Linked DNA regions of Homo sapiens: all the other regions are linked to region 1. Evidence: promoter capture Hi-C in human tissues and cell types (Jung and others, 2019). All regions are on one chromosome and are shown on one strand. The core of a region is centred on a gene start or on the middle of the fragment in contact, and the rest is flanking DNA. Distances in the headings are between cores, read along the strand shown. Region 1 holds the start of BEST4 (bestrophin 4). Region 2 overlaps TESK2 (testis associated actin remodelling kinase 2). Region 3 holds the start of CCDC17 (coiled-coil domain containing 17).

Region 1 (3,245 bases), core at 455-2,954:
GCTCACAGTGTAGGGGGAGGAGCTTCCCAAAACAAGACAGAGGCAGGACCACCACTCTTGGGATTTTTCAGTGTTCACTTACCTCAGCACTGGGAGGGTAAGTAAGCTGCCAATTCTCTTCCACTTTGAGGTTCTATTTCTTTTCTTTTCTTTTTTCTTTTTCTTTTTCTTTTTTGAGACAAAGTTTTGCTCTTGTTGTCCAGGCTGGAGTGCAATGGCATGATCTCGGCTCACCGCAATCTCCACCTCCCAGGTTCAAGCGATTCTTCTGTCTCAGCCTCCGGAGTAGCTGGGATTACAGGCATGTGCCACCATGCTCAGCTAATTTTGTATTTTTAGTAGAGATGGGGTTTCTCCATGTTGGTCAGGCTGATCTCGAACTCCCGACCTCAGGTGATCCGCCTGCCTCGGCCTCCCAAAGTGCTGGGATTACAGGCGTGAGTCACAGTGCCTGGCCTTTTTTTTTTTTTTTTTTTTTGAGACAGAGTCTCTGTCACCCAAGCTGAAGTGCAGTGGCACAATCTCAGCTCACTGCAACCTCTCCCTCCCGGGTTCAAGCGATTCTCCCATTGAGATTCTATTTCTTTTTCTTTTTCTTTTTCTTTCTTTCTTTTCTTTTTTTTTTTTTTTTGATTACCCAGGCTAGAGTGCAGTGGCACGATCTCAACTCGTTGCAACCTGCGCCTCCCCAGGTTCAAGCAATTCTCCTGCCTCAGCCTCCCATGTACCTGCTGGGATTACAAGTTCGTGCCACCACACCCGGCTAATTTTTGTATTTTTAGTAGAGACAGGGTTTCACCATGTTGGGCCAGGCTAGTCTCGAACTCCTGACCTCAAGTGATCCACCTGCGTTGAGGCTGCCCAAAGTGCTAGGATTACAGGTGTGAGCCACCTTGCCTGGCAGCGGAAGTTCTATTTCTATCAGCGCCTTAGGTATTACTTCCTCCAGAGGTGAAAGTGGCCACTCAAATCTTGGGCACCCCTAGGAGTCAGGATGTTGGACACAGGGCTTAACGGAGCCTGCACTCCTAGGCCTGAGCTTCCAGATCTGTGGCTGTCAGCCCCGTGGCATGGATGGAGAAGAGCCTGGCCAAGCCCCCAAGCCCCTGTACAAGAAGACTGGGAGTGTGGCCAGTGCACAGGATGGGTCCTGGAGCTCATGCCTTTGCTAGGCCACTTCCAGCCTTGGAAGTCCATCAGCCCTGGCTTTGAATCCTGCCTCCAACATGTTCTAGCTGTATGGCCGACGGCGGGCAAGTCATTTACCTCTTGGAGCCTCATCTGTGAAATGTGGATGATTGATTCCCTACCTCATGGTGCTGTGATGAGGATTTCTTGAGAGGATGACCTAGTAGTGCCCTTGGCATGGTTCCTGTCACTTAGTCAGTGCTCTGTGATCAGCAGCTGGTATTATTATAACAGTTTATCATGCATCTGTCTTCCCACCTGAAACGTGGGACAATAACCCCTGTCATACTGGCTTGAAGGACATGGTGTCGTCTGTGTGAGCTGTGGGGTCAGTATAGCTGGCATTTCTGCCACTCGAAGGCCAGCCCAACCCTACAGGGGTAAGGAGACACACCCAGTTCCCAGCACCAGGGGAAGCTGGATGACAGCTTCAATCCATCAATGATAGGCCTCAGTCCAGCCTAACTTTATGGACTGCAGAGGTACTTAAGTCTGTGGGGGTTGAAGTCTAGCCCAGTTCATCTTCCACACGGGCTGCTGCCCAGAGCAGGTAGGCAGGTATGGGATGGGGGTGAGAGTGCCCTGGGCCCTGGTAGTTCTAGTTAATCAGCTTCCAAAGCAAGGCCCCAAGGAATAGCAGTGGATTTGGGCTGGAGCTGCGTCTCTTGTCCGCAGCAGTTCAGGATCTGGTTATCCCTAGCCCTGCAGGCTGAAGAGGAGCTTGAGGAAACCTCATGCATGAAGGGACACAGATCTCAGTTCTACCTTGTCCAACTCTAGCCTGGCTTTGCCCATGTACTGCTCAGTTCTGCAGGGGGTGGGGTGTACTTTTCTGCTCTGCAGGCTCCTACCCCCTTGTCCACTGACGCAGGGTGAAGGCTGGGGTGTGTGAGACCAGAGTGGAAGGGAGGTTGTCTGGAGAACTAAACGACAGCCCTGGGGGCAACTCTTGTGACCTCCTGCCCCAGGCTCCCAGCACCATGACGGTTTCATACACTCTCAAAGTGGCGGAGGCCCGCTTCGGAGGTTTCTCTGGCCTGCTTCTCCGCTGGAGGGGAAGCATCTACAAGCTCCTCTACAAGGAATTCCTCCTCTTTGGGGCCTTGTACGCTGTGCTTAGCATCACCTACCGGTAAGGGCAGGGTCTTAGAGCTGGCGCAAGTGGGGAGACTGGGCCACCCACCTCCCTCTAACCCAAGCCTACACCTGCCTTCCCCAGGCTGCTGCTGACCCAGGAGCAGAGGTACGTGTATGCTCAGGTGGCCCGGTACTGCAACCGCTCAGCAGACCTCATTCCCTTGTCCTTTGTATTGGGTAAGGCTCCCTTCTAGTTTTCCCTGTGTCCCCCTTACTGTGTTCCCTGACCTCTGGGTTGGGTTGACAGCTCCGAGGGTCAGAATTACCCAACAGATGGTGTGGTGACACACCTGCAGTCTCAGCTACTCGAGAGGCTGAGGTGAGAGGATCGCTTGAGCCCAGGAGTTCCAGTCCAGCCTGGGCAATGTAGCGAGACTCTGCTAAAAAAAAAAAAAAAAAAAAAAAGAATTACTCAACACGGTGGCAGAGCCTTCCTGGTCAGCCAGAGCAGGCCCAGCAGGCACAGGAGCTGGGTGCTGGGTCCAGGACTTCCAGAGGGCAGGGCCCTATCACTTGCCGGACCCTCACTTCCAGCAAGGCACAAGACACCTGCTGGCCTCACAAGCCCACCCTGGGCACTGCAGGGGAGCTGGACAGAGGTGACAACCCCTTCCCCACCCTCCTGGGAAGCAGTCTCCTGGCTTTGAATCCCCACTTTCCCTCTGCTGAAGGAAGTTTGCCCTCCTCCCTCCTCCTGGCCTCGCACAGCAGGGCACTGGAGCTGAATGTTTCCTTCCCCCTGCCACGATTCAACTGGCCTGGACCAGGCCCTTTGCTGGGGGAGGTGAGGCGCTCCGACCCCCAGGCTCTCCACTCTCCCTTCCTACTCCCTCTATCACGGCGGCCAAGCAGGTTTCTATGTGACTCTCGTGGTGAACCGCTGGTGGTCCCAGTACACAAGCATCCCGCTGCCAGACCAG
Region 2 (3,375 bases), core at 804-3,303, 560 kb before region 1:
GGCAGTGTCTCACTCTGTTGCCCAGGCTGGAGTGCTTCTGCCTCCTGGGTTCAACGACTCTCGTGCCTCAGTCTCCTGAGTAGCTGGGACTAGAAGTGTATATTACCACACTCAGCTAATTTTTAGTAGAGGCAGAATTTTGCCATATTGGCCAGGCTGGTCTTGAACTCCTGGCTGCAAACAATCCACCCGCCTTGGCCTCCCAAAGTGCTGGGATTACAGGCGTGAGTCACTGTGCCCCACCATAAGCCTATATTTTCTTATAGCAGGTTCCTTTCAGTGCTGAGTGAGCCAACATATATATATATATATATATATATATATATATATTTTTTTTTTTTTTTTTTTTTTTTTTTTTTGAGACGGTCTCACCTTGTCACTCAGGCTGGAGTACAGTGGCATGGTCTCGGCTCACTGCAGCCTCCACTCCATCGGCTCAAGCAATCCTCCTACCTCAGCCTCCCGAATAGCTGGGACCACAGGCGTACACCACCATGCCTGGCTGTATTTTGGTCTTGTTTTGTTTTTTTCCACTCTTATTGCCCAGGCTGGAGTTCAATGGAGTGATCTTGGCTCACTGCAACCTCCACCTCCTGGGTTCAAGCAATTATCCTGCCTCAGCCTCCTGAGTAGCTGGGATTACAGACGCCTGCCATCACCCCTCGCTAATTTTTTGTATTTTTAGTAGAGATGGGGTTTCACCATGTTGGCAGGCTGGTCTCAAACTCCTGACCTCAGGTGATCCACGTGCCTTGGCCTCCCAAAGTGTTGGGATTACAGGCATGAGCCACCATACCCAGCCTTTCTTTTGTATTTTTAACAGAGATGGGGTCTTGCCATGTTACCCAGACTGGTCTCAAACTTGTGAGCTCAAGCAGTCACCCACCTCAGCCTCCTAAGGTGCTGGGATTACAGGCATGCACTGTGCCCAGCCAACTCATACATCTTGAGAGCCTTCATGTTTAACTTCAATCTCCTGAATATGTGTTACAGGAGCAAATGACATGAGAAGGGTTAAGAAATTCTTGCCTTATAGGAATGACAGCAGTCAAGGCAGTATAGGGGCCTATCAGTTTTCTTTCCTGTGGCCCCAGGATGTAGTTCTTAGCTAAGAGCAGGAGTTCAGTGATTTTTAGTCACTTGAATGCAGGTTTTTAGGGCCATATGTACTGACCCATTTTCTGCCTGTGTGATTGAGTTTCTGCTGCCCTGCCAGTTCCTCTTTGGCATCAGCTGATCTCTGTAGCACTCTCTTGCTGTCCAAATTGCTGTGTGACCAGGTTAGAAAAGAGTCGCTTTCAGAGGAAGTTGGCCATGCCACAAAACAGACACCTCATAGCCAAATGGCCTAAGATACCATCATGACAAGGCTTATATAAATAGTACCGTTTGATTATTAATGGGGGAACTATAAGGCAATCTAACATATCTAATATGACTGCTGCCCAAGAACTGAATTAAAGTCTGCTAGGGAGGTGTATAAGAGTTTTGTACCTGCCTAAGAATAGCTGTCACTTCATTCCCCACCCTCAATACCTACATGTACACATATTCACATATGCATGCACATACTCCTACTCCTTCTGCCCCAGATGAAGGGGAGGGGAAGGGAGCCCATCTTAAGAAAAAGCTTGAAAGGGAACAAAAGCAGCAGTACTGAGTCAATAAAGCCTAAAGCAGTAAGTACCTGGATGCCTCACATAGAATGGTTTTGGTGTGTGGCAGAGTCATTTGTAGTCAGCTGCACTGTTCCTGAAGGAGCACAAGACTGGCAAGTAGAAACTGGGAACCAGCAGAGGCCTAGTTGTAAGGAGCCCTTTATCTACATTACTGTCTGTAAGAACTGGACAGTTAGGCAGTTGGGACCTGGAAGGTGATATCTTATCTCTTTATTAGCCATTTCTTCTCCCCCAGAATGTTTTGGAAAACCAAGACTAAGAAAAGTGCAGGCCGGGCATGGTGGCTCACACCTGTAATCCCAGCACTTTGGGAGGCCGAGGCGGGCAGATCACCTGAGGTCAGGAGTTCAAGACCAGCCTGACCAACATGGTGAAACCCTTCCTCTACTAAAATACAAAAATTAGCCGGGCATGATGGCAGGTGCCTGTAATCCCAGCTACTCGGGAGGCTGAGATGGGAGAATCGCTTGAACCCAGGAGATGGTGGCTGTGGTGAGCCGAGATCGTGCCACTGCACTCTAGCCTGGCGACTGAGCGAGACTCCGTCTTGGAAAAAAAAAAGAAAAAAAAAAAGAAAATTGCATTTGTTCCAGGCAAATGGATGGGACTGAATCAACTCAGATATCAAATCTTTGCTTCCTACTCAGAAAGCGCCATTTTTTCTAAGATAGAAGGAGTTTGTGACAAAATATGTATCAGTTACACAGATACTCCCCCCACACACACACACACACAAGTGTCTCCTATACCTGGCTCCAAGGATGAAGGAATATTAGAAAAGAGGAACTTCTGACCTAGAGGTATGTACAGTTTTGTTGGCAAATAACTAAAAAGTAGTGCACAGCATTTTATAATTGTTTAGCTACATAGACGACAAGTTTTCTGAGCAGGAAAGATCACTCTAGGCCAGGGTAGCTAGGCTTCCTCGAGGAAAGCCCCCACTCCCTAAGAGTTCATCATATTCCCTTCTGTGCCCCAAAAGCACTTTGTCCCATTGTGCTAGTGTCCAAGTGTGGTTCTGTCTGGGCTTGTTGTGCTGTATTATAAAAATAACCTTTTTGGACTATAGGATAAGACCACTACCCTTTGCTTTTCCTTATGGGGAATGGGTATTCCCAGTGTCAACTGACTTGAGACAAGAAACTAGGAACATAGGAGAAATAACTCCCTATATTTCTGGGCTGTACTTTCTTGGGTCCGGACTTTAAGGAGGTTTTGAGGATAATTCCAGGTGGTGAGAACAAAGGACGTTTGCAAACTCTAGAGGAAGGCTGGGAAGTACACTATAGGGGATCTCAAGTTGAAGACAAACAAGTGAGTCTTATGAACCAGACTGTCCAATTTGAGATACCGTCTGTGTTCATTGCCCTTTTATCATCTCTGAGAAATAAAGCTAAAGGGACAGTAGAGGGCTCGGAGGTTTCCAAATTATCTCTTCATAGTCCATCTTGGGTCTGTGTCTTATTTCTTTAAGGACAGTATCAGGCTTTCTTATATTTTAATATTATACACTCCATATCACTTGATTGTTCTGTTGTGTCTGTATCTCCCACCAGCATGAGTTTCTCAAGTGCTTCTCTTATTTACTTTTGTTTTCTTACCACCTAGCACAGAGCCTATGAGAGTATAAAGTCTTCCTGGGCCTATTTCAGGGAAGGGCGAAGGGCTTGATAGCAAAGAGGCCAAAACGCCTGCT
Region 3 (3,562 bases), core at 783-3,282, 840 kb before region 1:
TTCAGGGCTACAGTGAGCCATGATGGCACCACTACAATCCAGCCTGGATGACAGTCCTGCTCCCGCCTCTTCGGCCTAGAGCAGGAGATTAGAGAACTACAAGCTGTCTCTTGAGGGAAAAAAAAAAAAAATGGTAGTAGTATTTCTACTGAATGCCTATCACTGTTGCACCATTGTAAAGTCAACCAGTCAAAAGTCTTAACCATTGAAAATTGGGACAAACTTAGTTGTTGAAAAGGAGGTTTTGATTTGGGCTTTGCCATTTACTTGTTTTCTGAGAACATATTTCTAAAAATGTACTCTTTATGTCAGTTGGAATTAAGCTGAACTGAGATGACATACTTTGAACACTTTGTAACTTGCTGCTGGTGGGTCATACCTTGGCTTTAGGTACTGAGTAGGGAAATGTCTTAAGTCCCTGTCTTGTTTAGAAAAGGGAGTTTCGGCCAGGCATGGTGGCTCACACCTGTAATCCCAGCACTTTGGGAGGCCGAGGCGGGGGAATCACGAGGTCAGGAGATCGAGACCATCCTGGCTAACACTGTGAAACCCCGTCTCTACTAAAAATACAAAAAATTAGCCAGGCATAAGGCTGGGCGCAGTGGCTCACGCCTGTAATCTCAGCACTTTGGCACGCCGAGGCGGGCGGATCACAAGGTCAGGAGATCAAGACCATCCTGGCTGACACGGTGAAACCCCATCTCTACTAAAAATACAAAAAAAATTAGCCGGGCACAGTGGTGGGCACCTGTAGTCTCAGCTACTCGGGAGGCTGAGGCAGGAGAATGGCTTGAACCCGGAAGGCGGAGCTTGCAGTGAGCCCAGATAGTGCCACTGCACTTCGGCCTGGGCGAAAGAGCGAGACTCCGTCTAAAAAAAAAAAAAAAAAAAAGCCGGGTGTGGTGGCAGGTGCCTGTAGTCCCAGCTACTGGGGAGGCTGAGGCAGGAGAATGGTGTCAACCTGGGAGGCAGAGCTTGCAGTGAGCCGAGATCGTGCCATTGCACTGTAGCCTGGGCAACAGAGCGAGACTGTCTCAAAAAAAGAAGAGAAAAGGGTGTTTCTTGGCCGGGCGCAGTGCCTTACGCCTGTAATCCCAGCACTTTGGGAGGCCAAGGCGGGCAGATCACGAGGTCAGGAGATCAAGACCATCCTGGCTAACATGGTGAAACCCCGTCTCTACTAAAAAATACAAAAAATGAGCCAAGCGTGGTGGTGGGCACCTGTAGTCTCAGCTACTTGGGAGGCTGAGGCAGGAGAATGGCGTGAACCCAGGAGGCAGAGCTCATTGCAGTGAGCTGAGATCGCGCCACTGCACTTCGGCCTGGGCGACAGCGAGACTCCATCTCAAAAAGAAAAAAAAAAAAGTAAAGAGGGTTTCTTAAGAAATATGCGGTCACCTCAGAGCTCCTCCATATATTTTGGGAGTGGGAGTGGAGTGAAGAATTTCACCAACAGTTCAGGGTCTTTCTGGCTTCTGGCCAATCTTGGGAGAGAGAAGGGGTTTTTTTCTGGACTTGATTCCCTCATCTGATAGATTCATTCTGTTCGCCCACAGCTTTCATTTCTTGGGCTGTGCTGATTATCTTCGTCTACAGCTGAAAAATGAGGAATCAGGGAATGGGAGTTAGGGAGACTGCTATCCCTGGTGCGACATGGTTTCCAGGCAGAATGCTGGAAAGGTCAGAGTGCCTCCTTTGCCAGGTAGTTCTCTGGATTGGAGAATGGTACAAACTGTTACATCCACTTGGGAGTACAGCAATGAAAAAGATGACACTTGCCTTTTAGAGGCTATTAAATGACCAATGATGTAGTAAGTGATAAGGGCCCAGCCTAGTCTAGGAGGCAGCTGCTTTTTCCTCTTTATTAATAGTCAGGGAAACCAAGCTACAATTAGAGACTTGCCCACGTTCAGACTTTGTAACACTTTTTCAAGCCAGTGGCTCCTCCCAAACGGCCGAGGTTTCCCCACCCATTCTCCTGACCTGCCCAGCCCTGTGGTTGCTGTCCAGGGAGCTAAGGCTCTCCCCAAACAAACTTGAAGATCTCACAGACCTAATAGACACGGCCTTTCCTCTCTGCCTCTGGCTTTATGTCTCTTTCATCCTCCTCTGCCTTTCCCCTGCCCTTGATCCCTTCTGCAGGTCTTGGCTGGTTTCAGGAAACGGGTCCCATCCCATGGACTCCCACTCTGGGGAGCCTGCGCTCCTGCCCTGTGGGACCTGTGACATGGTTTTCCGCTCCTCAGCTCTGTTAGCCACCCATACTCAGCGCTTCTGCATTGGCCACCCGACCCAAGAGATGACATTTGGAGCACAGGCATCAGTTGCCACTGAACCCCAGCGGGCCGCGGTAAGGGCCTCCATGGCCATGGGTGGGGATTCAAAGGAGCCAGGACCTTTATGATTCCTCATCCTACTACACCCTATCCCCAGGTTGTGCCACAAGAACACCAGGGCGTGCCACAAGAACCCCAGGGCCTCCCAGACCAGCAGGCCAGTAGATCTGCTCTAAAGAGGTTAACAGAGGAGGTAGAGCTACCTACCTTCCCCCAGGGCTCAAAACGTTGAGCGTCTTCCCCAAACCTGTAGATCATACTTGGGACAGATTCTGCCCACGCAGAGATCGCGGATCGCTGTTACCTCCAGGTGCAGTGGCTGCGGCTATCCCTACAGGAAATGCGGCCCTGGATAACAGAGGTCCCCAGGGTGTTCGCGGGGCCCTGGACACGTTCCGAGGCGCGGCCTCAGAGTCCCATGTCCGAGGCGGTGGGAAGCCCCAGCGAGCGGCTGCGGGCGCTGTTCAGGACTCGCGCGAGGCGCGTGGCGGAGATGGAAGCGCAGAGCCGGGCCCTGCAGCTACGCGGCGAGGGTGAAGGAGATGGGGGACGGGGACCAAGGACCTCCTCTGCCCTCGCCGTTTGGCTTAAGCTTGCTCGGGCCGGTTCTGACTCGGCCCGCATTCCCTCAGAACTGAGCCGACGCCTCCAAGTTGTGGCCTGTACGCGGGGCGGGATGTCCCGCCTCTTCGGCCTGGAGCAGGAGATTCGAGAACTACAAGCTGAGGCCGGGAGGACGCGGGGAGCTCTAGAGGTGTTGGGGGCCCGCATTCAGGAGCTGCAGGCGGAGCCAGGGTGAGACCCGACTAAGCGGATCCCCGGAACATGCGGCTCCGGGGTGGGAGGGGCGGGCTGGCTGCAGCCCCGGGGCCTCTGATGCGTTACCGTCTCCCTGCGCGTCGCCTGCCACCCCAGGAACCCGCTGAGCTCCCGGCGAGAGGCAGAACTTTATTCTCCAGTGCAAAAGGCCAACCCGGGAACTCTGGCTGCCGAAATCCGGTGAGAGCCGGGGCCGGAGATGGGCATAGGGCGAAGCGCTGAGCAGTTCTGGAAAGACGGCCTTCCTGTTCCCCACTCCCTAGGGCGCTGCGGGAGGCCTACATTCGAGACGGGGGCCGGGACCCCGGCGTGCTGGGCCAGATATGGCAGTTGCAGGTGGAGGCGTCTGCACTGGAGCTGCAGCGGTCGCAGACCCGCAGAGGTGAACAGGAGGGCCTCTCGCCAGC

The links. Contacts are between HindIII fragments. The study calls those that stand out against the background at their distance.
Region 2: a contact is called between a fragment that was not itself captured here and the fragment with the promoter of BEST4 in region 1, in 1 of the 25 tissues and cell types used here (lymphoblastoid cells).
Region 3: the fragment with the promoter of CCDC17 here is called in contact with the fragment with the promoter of BEST4 in region 1 in 1 of the 25 tissues and cell types used here (IMR-90 fibroblasts).

The regions. Positions count from the first base shown.
Region 1 is chr1:44,786,629-44,789,873 of GRCh38, reverse strand. BEST4 (bestrophin 4) reads left to right here and starts at 1,704. Exons shown (of 9, transcript NM_153274.3): 1 at 1,704-2,320; 2 at 2,408-2,502; 3 at 3,178-3,245. The coding sequence starts at 2,169. RefSeq lists enhancers at 2,476-3,161, 3,163-3,245, 3,162-3,245. The HindIII fragment of the contact is 9,775 bases long and covers 1-3,245 here.
Region 2 is chr1:45,351,771-45,355,145 of GRCh38, reverse strand. All of the region lies in intron 5 of TESK2 (testis associated actin remodelling kinase 2), which reads left to right. Among named protein-coding and RNA genes, the nearest start is that of TOE1, 13 kb to the right of the region's middle. The HindIII fragment of the contact is 4,062 bases long and covers 23-3,375 here.
Region 3 is chr1:45,622,524-45,626,085 of GRCh38, reverse strand. It overlaps CCDC17 (coiled-coil domain containing 17), which reads left to right and starts at 2,032. Exons shown (of 13, transcript NM_001114938.3): 1 at 2,032-2,350; 2 at 2,434-2,529; 3 at 2,647-2,869; 4 at 2,969-3,131; 5 at 3,252-3,335; 6 at 3,419-3,537. The coding sequence starts at 2,177. The HindIII fragment of the contact is 15,886 bases long and covers 1-3,562 here.